Linked DNA regions of Homo sapiens: region 2 is linked to region 1. Evidence: promoter capture Hi-C in 16 types of primary human blood cells and fetal thymus (Javierre and others, 2016). All regions are on one chromosome and are shown on one strand. Each heading gives the region's core, a stretch centred on a gene start or on the middle of the fragment in contact. The rest is flanking DNA. Distances are from core to core; before and after follow the strand shown.

Evidence for each region. Contacts are between HindIII fragments. The CHiCAGO score rates a contact against its expected background, and 5 or more counts as called.
Region 2: a fragment that was not itself captured here is called in contact with the fragment with the promoter of LINC01605 in region 1 in 1 of 17 cell types (M2 macrophages); the score reaches 5.4 in M2 macrophages.

The regions. Positions count from the first base shown.
Region 1 is chr8:37,597,872-37,602,393 of GRCh38, forward strand. LINC01605 (long intergenic non-protein coding RNA 1605) reads right to left here and starts at 1,968. Exons shown (of 5, transcript NR_170186.1): 1 at 1,190-1,968. The HindIII fragment of the contact is 9,185 bases long and covers 1-2,354 here.
Region 2 is chr8:37,313,964-37,318,485 of GRCh38, forward strand. No RefSeq gene overlaps it. Among named protein-coding and RNA genes, the nearest start is that of LINC01605, 280 kb to the right of the region's middle. The HindIII fragment of the contact is 3,626 bases long and covers 511-4,136 here.

The sequences.
Region 1 (4,522 bases), core at 718-3,217:
AAGAGAGATTCCTGCTCCTCCAGCCCCTCCACCCCTTCACTTTTGTGCTGAGGAACCCCCCATCACCAGGAGGAAGGAAGCCTGCCCAGTAAAGGGGCACTCCCAACAGCCCACCAGCTCCTGCGCCCAGCTGCCCCTGAAATCCTCGGACTCATTTTGTCCAGCAGCCTTGACTTTGTCAGGGGTACCAGTCATGTAATCCCTGAGGTGTCTACAAAACCCCGCAGTCATGGGCTCCATGCACACTCAAGAACAATGAGGAGCTTCAAAAGCTAAGGAGGCTTTTCCCAATGCTTCCATGGTGTCTCGATGGTTCCTGAGGTCTTGATACTCTGCCATGGCTTGGCAGTTTGGAAATGGTTTCCTGGTCTGGCTGTCCTAAGGATCCCTGGTTGTGTGACTGGGAACAAACCCTTCAACCTTCCAGGCACAGTTTTCTTCTGTAAAATGAGAGGGTTGGGTGCAAGTTTCCTGAGGCCCTGGGGCCTTGTGGCTGAGTTTATCTCCCCGACTCCCTGTCCATCCTCCTATGGAAGTACTCATAAAGCATTTCACAGCCACAAGGAAAAGGCACACAAGGTCCCCCAGCCCCCACACACAGAGGAGCCACACCTGCACCCCTCCCTCAAGGCCAGGCTTCCTCTCCCCCAGCACACGCAAGTTCTTCTCGGCCTCCCAGCTCTTTTCAGCAGCTCCCCAGAATGGAACGGCCCAGCCATGGCTTCTCAGAGGACAGCTTCTTGGCAGAGCTGGGAGTGGGTGGAGTAGAGCACATTTTTTCCTTTGAGGTCCAAAGGGCTGTCAACCCTCTTCAGCTGCCCTGGGGCCCAACAGCCACAGAGAGAGATTTATGACCTGGATAGCTTTGATCCCAGTCTCCGATAAACATCAGGAACAGCTCGACCCTAAACCCCGAGGAGAAGGTTTATGGATCAGAATGCAGCCTCCTGGAGAAAACGAGCCCAGGAGGGGGTGCCCAGGGACTGATTGGGCCCTTAAAGTTCTCTCATCAACAGACCCACTGCCATCTGCCCTTGCTTTCTGGGGAAAGGGACACAGCTGGGTGGCTGAGGCCTTTGAACAAGAAGCAATGCTGATCAGAGAGAGGTGAAGATCCTGTCAAAGGTTAAACTGGGGAAGGGGTGGAGGCGGTGGGCCCAGGCCTCTGAAATTCCCCACCCTCGCTCACCTGTTCTTCCAAACAGCGTTGTCCATGTTTCTCTAAACCACACACCAAGACAGAGCAGAGAGAGAACGCACCAGATAAGATCTGAGCTGAGAAAGGAATGTTTCATCCGTGGGTTTTGTTGTCCCTGTTCTTCTTGTTGATACTGTTGTTCTTGGTGATGATGGGGGTGGTTAATTGCTTGATTATATTTCATCCCTGTCTTCTTTCCAAAAGGACAGGGGGCCAGGAGAGTCTGTGTGGTCACAAACCCTTCATAGCTTTTTCCCGTCCCCTCCACTTGACCATGTGGGATGGCAGGGAATCCACACCCTCTTGGAACATCCCCTGTTTTGCTGATTGAAAAGAGATCCTAGAAACAGCACTACATCCAAGGTGAAGGAGGGGCCAGCCAGTCTCCTCTGGATGCCACCTCAGATGGGTTGCCTCAAGTTTAAGGTCTCAGCCACATCCATAAAACTGTTCCCCTCTGTGAAGCAACTTCTGCCATGGGGAGGTGGAGAAGGATCTTCTCAAAGCAAGTCCGACAGGCAGAGTCTTCACTCTCCGGGGTCCGGAGTGTTCTATAGACATCGGGAAACATACATCCATCTAAAAAGACACCCTAATAAACCTGCAGCTATTCATTGCACCCAAGAAACCAGCCTGTGGCCCACGCATGCAGGAATAAACACATATTTGCTGAGAACCAAATTGGGTCTAATGACCCTGGCCTGTCTCGCAGGGTCATCCTGAGAAATAGCTGATGTCAGACGACGAGCGTGAGCAGCTGTTCTCCATTTGCACTCAACAAGAGAAAAGGGCCTTAAATTTCAGCGGGAGGGATTAAGGTTAAACATTAAGAACAGCTTCCTGGCTAGGAGGGTTGTGAAACACTGTAATGTGTTACCAAGGATGCTGTAGACATTCCTCTCTCAATGAGACTTTAAAGAGGAAGGAGGTTGGTGATCTGCCCAGGAGGTTTTATTAGAAACTTTATTAGGTCATCTGGTCCATCCGCCTGAAGGCAAGGGCTTGGACTAAACACCCACCAAGCAAGGCCTTTCTGGGCACAGGAAGGCCTCTATAGTCCTTCACAATCAAAAATGCTGAGAAACTCCCTGGGCCCTAGACAGTGAAAAGAGAAACCAGAGTCATCAGCGAGGCCACCCTTTGGGGCCTGATTTCAAGCTTTAGCTAGTGTTAGTCGCCCATAGCAATAAGAGGGAGAAATGTGATTTTCAAACCCTCCGGAGACCAATACAGTTATTTACCAAACAGCACCAAGTGAAGCTTCCCCACCCACAGGGAAAGGACCATTTCCTGAAAATCAGGTCGGCCCCTGGCATTCCAAGGGCAAGCAGATCACCAGTTCTGACGTGTGGGAGCAAAAGGCAAACCATAAGATCACACATCTGGCTGGGCACGGTGGCTCACATCTGTAACTCCAGCACTCAGGGAGGCCAAGGCAGGATCGCTTGAGGCCAGGAGTTCAAAACTAGGTTGGGCAACATAGTGAGACCCCATATAAACTAAAAAAAAAAAACTTAGCTGGGCACGGTGGTGTGCACCTGTAGTCCCAGCTACTCAGGAGACTGCAGCAGGAGGATCGCTTGAGCCCAGGAGTTTGAGGCTGCAGTGAGCTGGAATCATGCCACTGGACTCCAGCCCAGGCAACAGAGAGAGAGACCCTGTCACAAAACAAAACAAAACAAAACAAAACAAAACACCACATCTTATTGCCAGTGGAACAATCCACCCATTTCACAGATTGGGAGACTGGGGCCTAGATATGGGCAATGTCTTCACACAGTTACTTTGTATCAGAGTTAGGACTGGAAAACCCTGGTTAGGAGGCTGACTTTATCACTCACTACCTGCGTGACCTCAAGCAAGTCATTTAACAACCTCCGGCCCTCAGTAGCCTCTGCTACAAAATAAACAGTTTTTAATCAGGAAACCTAATACACGGAGCACTGTCATCAACTCCAGAGCACTATAGATGGAAAGTGACTGCCCTTGTTACCATCACTCTCACTTCTAGTCCTTTCTGTTCATCTAAGCTGCTGTAAATGTAGTCCTCTAACTTGGAGGGGATCCTTCTAAGTTCTCAGATTAACAGAAAAGTAAAATCTTTGATCTTTAAGACCATGGAAGGTATCTCGTTGGTCTTAGTCAACATCCCATCCAAGCCACTTGTTTTGCAGATGAGATAGGAGAGTATCCGCATACACTCAGAGAATGACAGCAGAGAACATCCCAGGCAGAGGTCGGGGTGGGGAGGAAATGCCAAGGATAAGCTTGGTTGACCTCTCAGTGAGGCTCCCTGGCCCTGGGTATAATTTTCAACTCATTAACTTGAAATCCTAGGTATGCTAAGTCATTCTTTGGTCTCTATTTCCTTAGTAGCCTCTGTTTCCACAGCCCCCAAGTTGCCTGGTTCTGGGGTTAGCACCCGGGGGTGGGAGGGTCTCCCAAAGTCATTCTTGACTAACTTGATGAACCCCGGGAATCTTCCAGTCTCTCACCATCTTCAGCCCTCCCCACCCACTCACCTCCTGCCCCGTCCCACCACTGTCTCTAAAAGGTCAGTTCCCACCCAAGGCAAGAGCAACTCAACAAAATACAAGGACATTTGGTAAGCAACTATTATTTGCAAGGCTCTGGGTAAGCAGATATTATCTGATTTGACCCCCCTGCAACCATCATGCAAGATAGTTATCATCGCCCACCTTTTACAGATAAGCAAGCCATGAATCAGAGGTTACCCAACATGACCTAGTGACACACGTAGCAAAAGTGGCAGATCTGGGGGTTAAATTCTGGTCTCTGAGGCCCCAACGTTTGAGGGGGCAGCTGCTCCTAACCCCGATCTGGGAATCCATCACTCTTCCTAAATGTTTCTGACATTGTCTGCCAGTTCTGATGCTGCAGCCCTCACCTTGACCCCAGGCCTGAGTCCCCTTCTCGGTGAAATCCGATATCCCCTGGGATCGACCGAGGCCCGTCCCTATTCCCCAATTCCTGGAGTTCCATGGTGAATAACAGACATGCCGTGGGGTGGCTTGCTGACCAAGACTTTCAAGCATCCAGATTCTATCACTGTGAGAGCCCGCTGCCTATCCGGAGGGTATGTCCCCTCACTCCATTGCCTGGGTGACACCACACCTTTGGGCCATGATATACCTGCAGAAAGGGACTCCTTGCAAGGCCTGCCCATCCTAGGGCACATCACCTGCCTGTTGTTGCACTTGGCCAGATTCCCCTTAGTCAAGCCCAGACTAAGGCACAGCAACCAGGCCTGCTAGAGGCACCTCCAGATAATGCCATGGTAGCACAGCAGTCAAGAGAACAGGG
Region 2 (4,522 bases), core at 1,074-3,573, 280 kb before region 1:
TGGGAGGCATGTAGGAGGAGATGGCCTAAGTCACACAGTAAAGAGGAAGTGGGTAAAGTTCAGGCCATGATGAAGACTGTTGCAAGGATTCTTCCAAAGCTGAGTCCATGACCTTTTGGCTAAGTTATAATGTTGGGTACCACCAGCACTTGACTTCTATTTAATATAATTCTGCTAAGCATACTGGCTCAATTTCTGACCCGAGTAACCTATGCCACTAGGGACTGGAAAAGCACCTTTCTCCTGGGGCAACAGCCCCAAAAGCTGAAATGAAAAGTCTATTTTTCTATTGCCATCTTCTGCAAGGTGGCCCAACAATTCAATAGGAAAAACTTAGTTTTTTCTCCTCATCCTTCAAATATAAAACACACCCTATCGAACTGTCTAAAATGTCCTAGCACTTGTAAAACACATCTGCTGTTTCTTCTGATTCTGTAGAATTATCTTACCTTTGTCAACACCCAGGCAAGACCAGAATTAAGCTTTTCATCTGAAGCAGAGTTTGACATAAGCTTAGGGCATCAGATCTCAATGGAACAAGAAATGAATCCTTGAAAGCACCAAGAATATAAGAGAGGGACCCACACCAGAAGTAATCGAGAGTATCACAAGGGGACAATGATTCCTGCAACTGTATGCAAACTGGAGGAGAACTAGCAGCTGAACCTGAAGATGTCTGACCTTGAGGGTTTTATTTAATTCCTATCCAAGGATGCCAACAGGTCTCAGAGATGGGGGGGTGCACTGCCCCTATGTTGCCCAAGGTTAGAGACACAAAAGCTCAGAGGGTTGAGTAGATGACTGTCATCTCCCCAAAAGCCATGATATCTTTTCAGCCTATCCCTTCCCTGTCTACAGCCAGTTCTGCACACATTCCCCGCATCTTCCTACACCAAGTGTATTAGTCTGTTTTCACACTGCTGTAAAGGTACTACCCGATGACCAGGTGCAGTGGCTCACACCTGTAATCCCAGGACTTTGGGAGGCCGAGGCGGCCGGATCACCTGAGGTCAGGAGTTTGAGACCAGCCTGGCCAACAAGGTGAAACCCCGTCTCTACTAAAAATGCAAAAATTAGCCAGGTGTTGTTGTGGGCATCTTTAATCCCAGCTACACGGGAAGCTAAGCCACAAGAATCACTTGAACCTGCGAGGCGGAGGTTGCAGAGAGCTGAGATCGCACCACTGCACTCCAGCCTGGGAGACAGAGTGAGACCTTGTCTGCAAATAAATAAATAAATAAAAATAAAAAATAAAAAAAAAAGATACTACTCGAGACTGGGTAATTTATAAAGGAAAGAGGTTTCATTGACTCAGTTCTGCATGGCTGGGAAGGCCTCAAGAAACTTAAAATCATGACAGAAAGGGAAGCAGTTATGTCTTACATGACGGTAGGAGACACAGGAGAAAGTGAAGGGGAAAGAGCTCCTTATAAAACCATCAGATCTCGTGACAGCTCAGTCACTATCATGAGAACAGCATGGGGAAAACCAACCCTGTGATCCAATCATCTCCCTTCTTTGACACGTGGGGATTACAAGTCCCTCCCTCCACATGTGGGGATTACAATTCAAGATGAGATTTGGGTGGGGACACAGAGCCAAGCCATATCACCTAACAAAGGTTTGTTTCCCCAAAAGTCTCAAGCCAAACTCAGTGAAGAACTGGACATAAGAACAGTGGGAGACTCTGCATACATTCTGTGTCTAGCTGAGCACAGCAGCTATAAAGAAGAAAGTTCTATTTCCTCAGGTGGCGAAGCATGGTGGAGCTGGGCCTCCCACTGGACTGGGGTCTGTGCCCCTTGAGGATAAAGGAGAGAATCAAGCTCAGTGGGAAAATGGGAACATTGAAATCAAACCTCACCAGCTGCACAGGTTTCCTAGGGCTGAGATTGCCTTTACTGATTATAGAAACTTCGTCAAACTTTGTATAAACAGAAATGCACAATAGGAAGAGATGCATTTTTCATGGGCCACAGTTTGCAGTCCCCCCAGGAAGTGCTTCCTACACTTAGGGCCACGAGTCGTTGACATAGACCCAGATTCTCTCCCCTGCAGCTCCTCTTTGCTGGGGAAGGTTGGGATCAGCCCCATGATGCTTGCTACCAGAAATACATGGTGACCAGCAGGGAAAGTGGATAGTAGCTCAAGAGGACACACCTGTCTGCTCCTTCAGCTCTTCCCTCCTGAGTCAAGAGGAATCAGAAACATCCACTCCAAGGGGAAGAACCTGTAACTGGATCAGCTACTGTGCTTTCAAAAGAGCTTAGCCGCTGGGCACATGTGACCAGGGAGCATTTGCAATGTGGCTAGTCAGAAATGAGGCACACGATAAGTGGAAAATGCACACTGGATTTTGAATACTATGCACAAAAAAAATGTAAAATATCTCATTGATTTTTATATTACTTTTTTCATATTGCTTGTATTTTAAATATATCAGGTTAAATAAAATTTGTTATTCAGAGTAATTTCACTTCTTTATTTTTACTTTTTTATAATGTGGCTCCTAAATAATTTAAAACTGCACATGGGGCCTGCATTATATTTCTATTGGACAGCCCTGAACTGGAGGATAAACATCAATGAAGGAAACAGACAAGGACTGCCAGGTCATTCCACTCTGAGCACGCCATGTATGGAAAGTACTTAATGACAAGTGTGCCTCATTTTATTCAGCAAACTTGAAGGTCAACATAAAGAAATGGGAAGACAGTAGGCCTAAGCACCAAGAGTCCAGGCCCGGGAACTCCACCAGCCAGATGTGGGCCAGGAGTGGGAGTCAAACCAAAGCACAGCCTCCAATTAGCCCATCATCTCCCACTTCTTCCTCTCAGAAGATCTGGACTTTCCTGATGCAAAAGACCCCACGGCCAGCATTTCCTATCCAATCCCCACCGATGGCTGTTGTAGGCTTCTGAAAAATCAGAACAGGTTAAGTTGCTCAGACTCAACCTTTGGGGTCCTTTCTGGATATAGTGGGAAATGTGGGATTTGTGGTTGGACAAATCTGGAGTCAGATTTCAGTTCTGCTGTTGACAAGTCCCACGTGCTTAGACAAGAAACTAAACCTCTCTGAGTTGTCATTTCTTCCTATGTAAACTAGGTATTAGGATGGTGCAAAAGTAATTGCAGATTTTGCCATTACCTTTAATAAAATAATTTATTTTATTGTATTAAATTTTTGAACTTTAATAAATTTATTTTATTAGATTATTAATAAAAGAAATTATTTTATTTGATTATTAATAGAAATTATTTATTTTATTTGATTATTAATAAAATAATTTATTTTATTTGATTATTAATAAAATAAATAATTTATTTTATTTGATTATTAATAAAATAAATAATTTATTTTATTTGATTATTAATAAAATAAATTATTTGTTTTATTTGATTATTAATAAAATAAATTATTTGATTATTAATAAAATAAATAATTTTATTTGATTATTAATAAAATAAATAATTTATTTTATTTGATTATTAATAAAATAAATAATTTTATTTGATTACTAATAAAATAAATAATTTATTTGATTTGATTATTAATAAAATAAATTATTTATTTTACTATTGTTTATTGATTCTATATATTTATACATTTATTTTATTAATAAAATTAATCAAATAATTTATTTTACTATTGTTTATTTTCTATATATATTTATATAATTATTTCATTATTACTAAAATAAATCAAAGCTCCAGTAAAAACTTCACTGGACACATTCAAGTGCTTACACAGAACCTGGCACATAAATGGTACCTATTATGGCTCTATGTTCTATGAAATTGTATATTCTTCATTTTGTTGAATTAATCTCTATTTTAAATGCAGTAGAGGAGCTGGCTGTGTAAAGGACACTTCCTCTAAATCCTCATCAAATGGCAAAGAGTACTTCCCTAACGAAAAGAACTGCTCCCTGATTCCCTGTCCCAATATTCTCCTATGCATTGGGAAACCCTCCTCTCTTCAATAATTAGTTTTTATGCATCCAGATTTTTTATACCTGAGCTCTCACATTTACCTCAAGCGAGGCACATGAGTATCCAACTCTCCATAAGGTTCCCAATGCAAGACTTTTTCTGTATCCCAGGTGGCAAGGCAGAGAAAGAAAATCCCCGAACCAAGCTTTCCCCAAAGGCCTGGTGGGGCTGGGAGGCAGAGACAGCCCAGGAAGAGGTCTTCACAGGGAAGTGGAGAGAGCAAAGGAGGAAGAAAAACAAACACAGTTTTAATTAAACACAGTGTATCTAAATCAGGGAGGTATGTTCAGAGAGCAAGGAAGGGTGAAATGGAATTTCTAGAAGAAAACAACTTTCTTCACCTTCTTAGTTTCATTAACATTGAAATGAACCCCCTGAGGAGCAGGAGCCAGGCCCTACTGCAGGGGAGGAGAGAAAGCTGCCCTGCGCCTCTATGGGGCTTTGTACTCTTTGGCACTGGATCCACCAACACAGGGCACCCCTCCTGGAGCCAGCTCTTGGGGGCATCTGCCCTGCCTGTGCATCTGGG